Linked DNA regions of Homo sapiens: regions 1 and 2 are each linked to region 3. The links are contacts of gene promoters, found by promoter capture Hi-C in blood cells and fetal thymus (Javierre and others, 2016). All regions are on one chromosome and are shown on one strand. Each heading gives the region's core, a stretch centred on a gene start or on the middle of the fragment in contact. The rest is flanking DNA. Distances are from core to core; before and after follow the strand shown.

Region 1 (2,700 bases), core at 36-2,535, 340 kb before region 3:
TAAGGAGGCTCCTGCCAGGGCCATACAGACCACACCCTTAGAAGGGCCCAATGTGCAGCAGACAGAACAAAAAAGGCCTGTCCTGGAGAGATAAGCAGCTAACTTGGCCAGCTCCAGAGTGTGCAGGATGGCTTTCTTTTGGACAAACCAAGCCCAGTCATAAGCCTCTGAACAACCCCAGACAGGGAGAGTTTCAGGCTTTCGGAGTCAGACATATTCCATAGTGCTGCCGGCTCTGCCAGATCTGGCTTTCTGGGGTTTGTGAGGGGGCATGGGCGACTCTCAGGAGCACATCTCTCAAACAGAAAATGGTCCCACAGGGGCCCTGTGTGTCTTGTCCATGACTGGGTCTCCAGAGTTTTGCAAAGGGCCTGGCACACATTTGGCAGTCTGTAAATATTTGCTGAATTTGTTGTTGACTTGACATTTGAATTTCTTGTTCCCTAGGCCTTAAGCTAAAACCAGAGAAAGGCCAAAATGTGGGGAGCAAGAAAGGAAGCCATAGATAAACCCCAAGATGTGTAATAGTGTATAATTTCTCTGGGAAGTTTTAAAGAGAAACAAACATTAGGCATGTTGGATTTTGCCAGTGTCTGCTCAACATACATAGGTGTTAACTTGACTTTTTCTCCAAAGATAGTCATAAACCAAAAGGTCACTACCTCCTGAACTAAAGCTTGGGGTACAGGGAGAACCCAGGAGGCAGATTTGTGATAGTTCTGGGCTTTTTTCCAAGAAGGGAGAAGGAGAGGTCAGCGCTTCATCCCAAAGGCCAGCGTAGAGCTGGGCACATACTGTGCACTCAGTCATTGTGGAGAGACCTGCATCACTCCTTCCATTAAGATACTTTCCCAGAGCTGTGAGTGGGCTCCACTGTCTCCACTACTCAGAGAAGCAGAACCTCCCCACACCTCCTCCACTCTATCCTCTCCAGAGCTGGGCACCGCTCTGCAGGGCCCAGGTGCAGCTAATAGGCAGAGGGATGGCTGCTGAGCACCTGATGCAGGTGAGCGTGCCTCCTGGGTCCTGTCAGACAGAGCTAGGAGGAGGCCATGCCCAAACATGGGGCAACACCAGGCACCACCCCCTCACCAGGTAAGCCTGCCACCTTAGCACTTTTACCATTTCAGCTTATTTTCAAGGTGTGTTTGGTAGCCTGGAACAAACTTATTGCCTTGGAGGCAAACCCAGCCCATGAATATTTGGGATTAATTATCTCTCCTTCGTTTGAGCCCAACAACCTCCTCAAATGTATATAAAGGGATTTATTTTGCACAGGTCTTCATTTCCCATCCCTCTTCCTCTGACTCTCAGTGTCCCTGCTTAACTTACACTCTTCTCTTCGCCAAGCTCCTTACCATGAGCAGACAAGCCAGCAAGACATCTGGTGGCGGGAGCCAGGGTTTCTCCGGCCGCTCTGCTGTGGTCTCCGGCAGCAGCAGGATGAGCTGTGTGGCCCACTCTGGGGGAGCTGGCGGAGGGGCCTATGGCTTCCGGAGCGGAGCAGGTGGCTTTGGCAGTCGCAGCCTCTACAACCTGGGCGGCAACAAGAGCATCTCCATCAGCGTGGCAGCTGGCGGCTCCCGGGCTGGAGGCTTTGGGGGAGGGCGGAGCAGCTGTGCCTTTGCAGGTGGCTATGGAGGTGGCTTTGGGAGCGGCTATGGAGGTGGCTTTGGTGGTGGCTTTGGTGGTGGCAGAGGAATGGGAGGTGGCTTTGGTGGAGCTGGTGGCTTTGGAGGGGCTGGTGGCTTTGGAGGGGCTGGTGGCTTTGGTGGTCCTGGTGGCTTTGGTGGGTCTGGTGGCTTTGGTGGGCCTGGCAGCTTGGGCAGTCCTGGTGGCTTTGGCCCTGGGGGCTTTCCTGGGGGAATTCAGGAAGTGACTATCAACCAGAGTCTCCTGCAGCCCCTCAATGTGGAGATCGACCCCCAGATTGGGCAAGTAAAGGCCCAGGAGCGGGAACAGATCAAGACCCTCAACAACAAGTTTGCCTCCTTCATTGACAAGGTAATGAAGCTTTGACTGGTCATCCCTTCCTGGGCTGGGGACTTTGAATTTGACCTTTGGGACACAGTGTTTAAATGTTTCTTGGATAGGCCAGACTGGAGGGTGAGGAGTTAGGTGGAACTCTAGGGTCTGGGAAGATATCCAGGGTTGAGGAGTTTGTCTACATGGTCAAGTGAGGGGAGGTGTAGAAAGAAAACAGTCCCCTATTTGGACCTGAGCACCACACATCCTGTTTGTGGGAACCCCTGCTGAAGTTTCCAGTCATTGCCTCATTGAGGCCCAGGCTGGCAGGGCAGGCAGCCCAAGGCAAGGGCCACAGCCACCATCAGCGAAGGGTCCACCAAGAATGGGAGGCTTTTCAAATACAAGCTGCCCTCTGAGGCTTTCCAGGAAGCCCTTTCCCCCTCATATTGCTGTGCCAGGCAGAGGAGGCTGATTACCTGGAGCAGGGATTAAGAGCATAAGAACCTTAGTTAGTCCCAAGGGAGCGCAGAGAAATGAGTGACTTTGCACTCCTACTCAGCCTAGTCAGGAAGACAAGAGTGCTCGGTGAGCTTCTCCAGACCAGGACAGTTCTCATGGGGCTGCCTCCCCTCCAGGCCCAAGAGAGGTGTTGTCATGCTAACTGTGGCATGCCAGCCAGTGTTGCTTCCCAGCTTCCCAGCATCACTTCACTGTTTTTGAAGAGCTAGCATG
Region 2 (2,700 bases), core at 5-2,504, 440 kb before region 3:
ACTTTTTGTTTTTAAAGCTTGATTTCCTATGGGACTGAATTTTAGTTTTTTAGAAAATTTACATGTGTAGAAGAAGGTTCCTGTTTGACTATTCCAGATGAGCCAGCCATTATCCCCCACTTCCCTCCACCCTGCCTTTCCCGACCCAACCACCCAGGATTAAAATGATGAGTCTTCCAAGCATTTGTGGACTCTTCTGAAGATATTTTAATTCCAAGGTTTTGCTCTGCCTGCCCGCTGATCTGGGCTAAGGTGGTCTAGGAGCTCCCCTGTAGTAGGGGGATCTGAAGGTGGGCTAAGGACCGAGGGCCAGGCTGACTGGAGTGTAAGGTGGTGGGAATGGAGGAGTGAATGTTAAAGCAAGGCATGTGACAATGCGGACAGTACATACCCTTCATGAAGGATAGATAGAAATGTGTGCATGCATGTCCCTACGTAATTATATATCATAGATTCTACCTGTTGGGAAAGGAAGAGGAAGCACCACTGCAAGGAAAGGAAGGCAGGGAAGGATACCAGCATGGTGGGTGGCCCCCTAGTTCACTCTCCGCGCTGCCCTTTTACACATTGTGGTGGGCATAGTTGCTTTGTCTAGCCAGGACCCCTTCCCCCTTCTTCTAGTAATGCAAAGCTCCCCCACCTCCACTCCTGCCACGCCCCACTTCTTTTCAGGAACTGTTCCTCCTAAGATCACAGGACCTCTGTCCAGGCACACAGGGTTCACAATGGGCCAGCCTTGGCCAATCACAAGTCCCTTTGTTTCCTCCTTGCTGAGGCATATTGTACATACAATAAAATGCAAAATGTGCTTTAATGGGGAATGTACAACCTGATGAGTTTTTTTATTTTTATTTTTATTTATTTTTTTTGAGATGGAGTTTCACTCTTGTTGCCCAGGCTGAAGTGCAATGGCACGATCTCGGCTCACTGCAACCTCCGCTGCCCAGGTTCAAGCGATTCTCCCGCCTCAGCCTCCTGAGTAGCTGGGACTACAGGCATGCGCCACCACGCCGGGCTAATTTTGTATTTTTAGTAGAGACGGGGTTTCTCCGTGTTGGTCAGGCAACTCCCGACCTCAGGTGATCCACCCGCCTCAGCCTCCCAAAGTGCTGGGATTACAGGCGTGAGCCACCGTGCCCGGCGCCTGATGAGTTTTAACTTATGTTCACACCTGTAATGTAGAACATTTCCTATATCACAGAAGGTTCACTTGGGCCCCTTGCCAGAGTGCACTTTTTTTTAGTAGACTTATTTTTTAAGAACAGTTTTAGCTAGGCGCTGTGGCTCATGCCTGTAATCCCAGCACTTTGGGAGGCTGAGGCGGGTGGATCACGAGGTCAGGAGATCGAGACCATCCTGGCTAACATGGTGAAACCCCGTCTCTACTAAAAAATACAAAAAAATTATCTGGGTGTGGTGGCAGGCGCCTGTAGTCCCAGCTACTCGAGAGGCTGAGGCAGGAGAATGGTGTGAACCCAGGAGGCAGAGCTTGCAGTGAACTGAGATCATGCCACTGCACTCCAGCCTGGGCGACAGAGAAAGACTCCGTCTCAAAAAAAAAAAAAAAAAAAAAAAAGAAAAAAAGAGCAATTTTAGGTTCATAGCAAAATCGAGCAGGAGGTAGAGGGTTCTCATACACATTCTGCCCCTACACCTGCATCCCACACCAGAGGGCTACATTTGTTACAACATCATCAACATCCCACCTCAGAGGGATACATTTGTTACGATTGATGAACCTACATTGACACATCATTATTACCCACAGTCCATAGTTCACATTAGAGTTAACTCTTAGTGTGGACATTCTGTGGGGGCCATGTAGCCACCATTACAGTACCATACAGAATAGTTCACTGCCCCCAAAATCAGAGTGCATTCTCAAAAATATGAATCAGATTCAGTTACTTCCTTATATGGAAAACCCTTTATTTTTATTTTATTTTTTTCTTTTCTTTCTTTATTTTTTATTATACTTTAAGTTCTAGGGTACATGTGCACAACATGCAGGTTTGTTACATATGTATACATGTGCCATGTTGGTGTGCTGCACCCGTTAACTCGTTAACTCTTCATTTACATTAGGTATATCTCCTAATGCTATCCCTCCCCTCTACCCCCACCCCACGACAGGCCCTGGTGTGTGATGTTCCCCACCCTGTGTCTAAGTGTTCTCATTGTTCAATTCCCACCTATGAGTGAGAACATGCGGTGTTTGGTTTTCTGCCCTTGCAATAGTTTGCTCAGAATGATGGGAAAACCCTTTACTTTTGACACCCAGAATAAAGCCCTAAATCTTGACTTGGCCCACAGGCTGTGCCTACTCTTCCTCCTCTGAGGCCTCATCCTGGCCACTCTGTCCCTTGCTCTCTGATGCAGTGGTGCAGGCTTTTCAGGGCATAGCCTACATGGAATTTGCTTCTGCTCAGGGCATTGCATGGCTGGCCCCCTGCTTGGAACACCCTGCCTTTCCTAGTCACTCCCAAGCTTTCCGCTCAAACGCAGCTTCCCCAAGAAAGTCTTCTGACACCACAAGACAAGACAAAAAGTTTTATGACACCACAAGACAAGAAAGTCTTCTAGACACCACAAACTGAGTGGCGTGTTTCTATGATAAGTTCCCAAGGCACCCTGTATTTTCTCCTTGTAAATTACAGTCACTCATTCATCTGCAGAGGTATTTTATTAATATCAGCCTTT
Region 3 (2,700 bases), core at 128-2,627:
TCTACAATGCAGGCTCCCTCTCTATATATGCCAACTCCCTCCACCTCTTCCTCACCCATACAAACACACGTTGACACAAACACATATGCACAGACATGTCACCCATGGCCCAGGAAAAGCACAGGAAAATATCCAAGTAAAGATACAAGGATACACAAGGAACTGCTAACATTACTTCCTCCATAGATAGGAATTGGGTAACTGGGGAATGGCCTTGAGCTATATTATTTTGTTGTTTAGCATGTTTTACAAAAAATTTTTTAAAACATGTATCATGTATTCAATTTGTAAACATGTAAATAATTGTGCAAATAGTACTATTCAAAATTTAAATGGGCAATCTACTACATTTACTTCTAGAATGTTTAAATATAGACAGAATCTTAATAAGCTTCTAATTTTAATATGAAATATGAAGGTTAGAGTCTCATATTAAAGGAAACAATAGGGGTATGCAATTAGAAAAATCCCAAGAATGAAAAAGTACAATGAACAGTTAACCTGTTTTATTTAACAAATAAAAGTAAGAAATGAAGGGAGATTTTTAAATTTCAATGATTTAAAGGATATATCACTCAAATACAACGTTTATAGAGCTTATTTTGACTCTGATTGGGACACCAAAATATAAGAAATATATATCAAAAATAGGACTGCTTGAAGACTAAATAGACACTTGTTCATTTTAATTAGTATGTAAATTTTTAAGATATAAAAATAGTGTTTTGATTTTTTAAAGGACCTATTATTTAGATATTAATATTGAATTATTGATTGAAGACATAATATGACTTCTGGAATTTCCTTTCAAACAATCTAGAATGGAAGAGGAAATAGGGTTGAAGTATGAAAGAAATCAGGCTGGCCATGAGATGATCATCATGGAAGCAGGTGACAGGTATATACAGGCCCATTGCAGTGTTCTGCTTCTCTACCTGTTTAAAATTGCACCTAAAAGGTGAAACAATTATGGGGAAATTGTAATATTTCTGTTAAGGAATTCACAATACAGTGCCTGTGATCTCCAACAGCAAGGCTGGAAGAAAGTCAGACTGGGAAGAGGAGGGCACTCAGGGCATGTCGATAAACAGCCTAGCATGCAGAACCTTTGCTGAAGACAGTGACTAATTCCAACTTCATGAATTGAGAATACTCTTATTGTGCTGAGATCTCAAGTCAAAGCTGGAGGCAGGAACATTTTGCCTGACTAAAGGAAGCGAAAAATGCAATCTCGGTATTTCATAACTTTTGTAATAATGCAGGTGTGATCTCACTATTTGTAAAGCCCAGCCCTTCCCAACCTGCAAGCTCACCTTCCAGGACTGGGCCCAGCCCATGCTCTCCATATATAAGCTGCTACTGGAGTCCGATTCCTCGTCCTGCTTCTCCTCCCTCTCGCCTCCAGCCTCTCACACTCTCCTAAGCCCTCTCATCTCCTGGAACCATGGCCAGCACATCCACCACCATCAGGAGCCACAGCAGCAGCCGCCGGGGTTTCAGTGCCAACTCAGCCAGGCTCCCTGGGGTCAGCCGCTCTGGCTTCAGCAGCATCTCCGTGTCCCGCTCCAGGGGCAGTGGTGGCCTGGGTGGCGCATGTGGAGGAGCTGGCTTTGGCAGCCGCAGTCTGTATGGCCTGGGGGGCTCCAAGAGGATCTCCATTGGAGGGGGCAGCTGTGCCATCAGTGGCGGCTATGGCAGCAGAGCCGGAGGCAGCTATGGCTTTGGTGGCGCCGGGAGTGGATTTGGTTTCGGTGGTGGAGCCGGCATTGGCTTTGGTCTGGGTGGTGGAGCCGGCCTTGCTGGTGGCTTTGGGGGCCCTGGCTTCCCTGTGTGCCCCCCTGGAGGCATCCAAGAGGTCACTGTCAACCAGAGTCTCCTGACTCCCCTCAACCTGCAAATTGACCCCGCCATCCAGCGGGTGCGGGCCGAGGAGCGTGAGCAGATCAAGACCCTCAACAACAAGTTTGCCTCCTTCATCGACAAGGTGAGCCAGTGCCATGCCCTCCATCGGGCACTTCAGGGTCCCCAGACCAGAAGAGCAACACCTTCCTGCCGGAGAGACCCTAGGAGGGAGGGAGAAGGGGACTCAGCCCAGCTCTGCAGAGAGTGCAGGTGGCTCTCGGTGCACAGGAGGCAGCACAGATGGGCATCACTCCCCCATGGGATATCTGGAGTGGCCCTCACTCCTGCCTAGGGAGAGCCATAACTTTTCATAACCCTGAAGCACAGATGAGGCCATCAGAGAGTGGAGTAGGTTAATTCTCCCCTCTGAAGTGTTTAAGAGATTACAAAGCAAATGCCAGGAGTATATGGGCTGGTAAATTACACTCTGGGGTCTGGGTAAGAGGAAAAAGATTTAGAAAGAAAAGGAAAAGATAATCTGGCTGGATTAAGAAAAAAAGGGACATAGAAACAACTGTAAAACATGGATAAATGCTAATTAATTTTAAAAACAGAGAATGACCATAACATCAGAATATTTGAGAGGAGACACTAAATGGGAAAGTAGACTGAAATGTAATCATGAGTCAACATCTAATATCCCTCCTAACTAAGATCCTCTCGGTAAAAAAAACTGTGTACAATATATCAGGTAATTAGTATTTTTAAACTAGATTTGTGATTGTGCTTGGAAAAAGAAAAGAAGAAATGTTGAAACTCACTGATGATCAATAGCTTACAGTGCGAGAACACCTCAGT

The links. The method cuts DNA at HindIII sites, captures the fragments that hold promoters and counts their contacts. A CHiCAGO score of 5 or more calls a contact.
Region 1: the fragment with the promoter of KRT3 here is called in contact with the fragment with the promoter of KRT6B in region 3 in 2 of 17 cell types (endothelial precursors and total CD8 T cells); the score reaches 6.4 in endothelial precursors.
Region 2: a contact is called between a fragment that was not itself captured here and the fragment with the promoter of KRT6B in region 3, in 1 of 17 cell types (M0 macrophages). The highest score is 5.1, in M0 macrophages.

Annotation. Positions count from the first base shown.
Region 1 is chr12:52,794,702-52,797,401 of GRCh38, reverse strand. KRT3 (keratin 3) reads left to right here and starts at 1,285. Exons shown (of 9, transcript NM_057088.3): 1 at 1,285-2,004. The coding sequence starts at 1,360. The HindIII fragment of the contact is 1,337 bases long and covers 679-2,015 here.
Region 2 is chr12:52,890,318-52,893,017 of GRCh38, reverse strand. No RefSeq gene overlaps it. Among named protein-coding and RNA genes, the nearest start is that of MIR9898, 7.3 kb to the left of the region's middle. The HindIII fragment of the contact is 2,470 bases long and covers 20-2,489 here.
Region 3 is chr12:52,450,823-52,453,522 of GRCh38, reverse strand. It overlaps KRT6B (keratin 6B), which reads left to right and starts at 1,377. Exons shown (of 9, transcript NM_005555.4): 1 at 1,377-1,984. The coding sequence starts at 1,445. The HindIII fragment of the contact is 8,192 bases long and covers 394-2,700 here.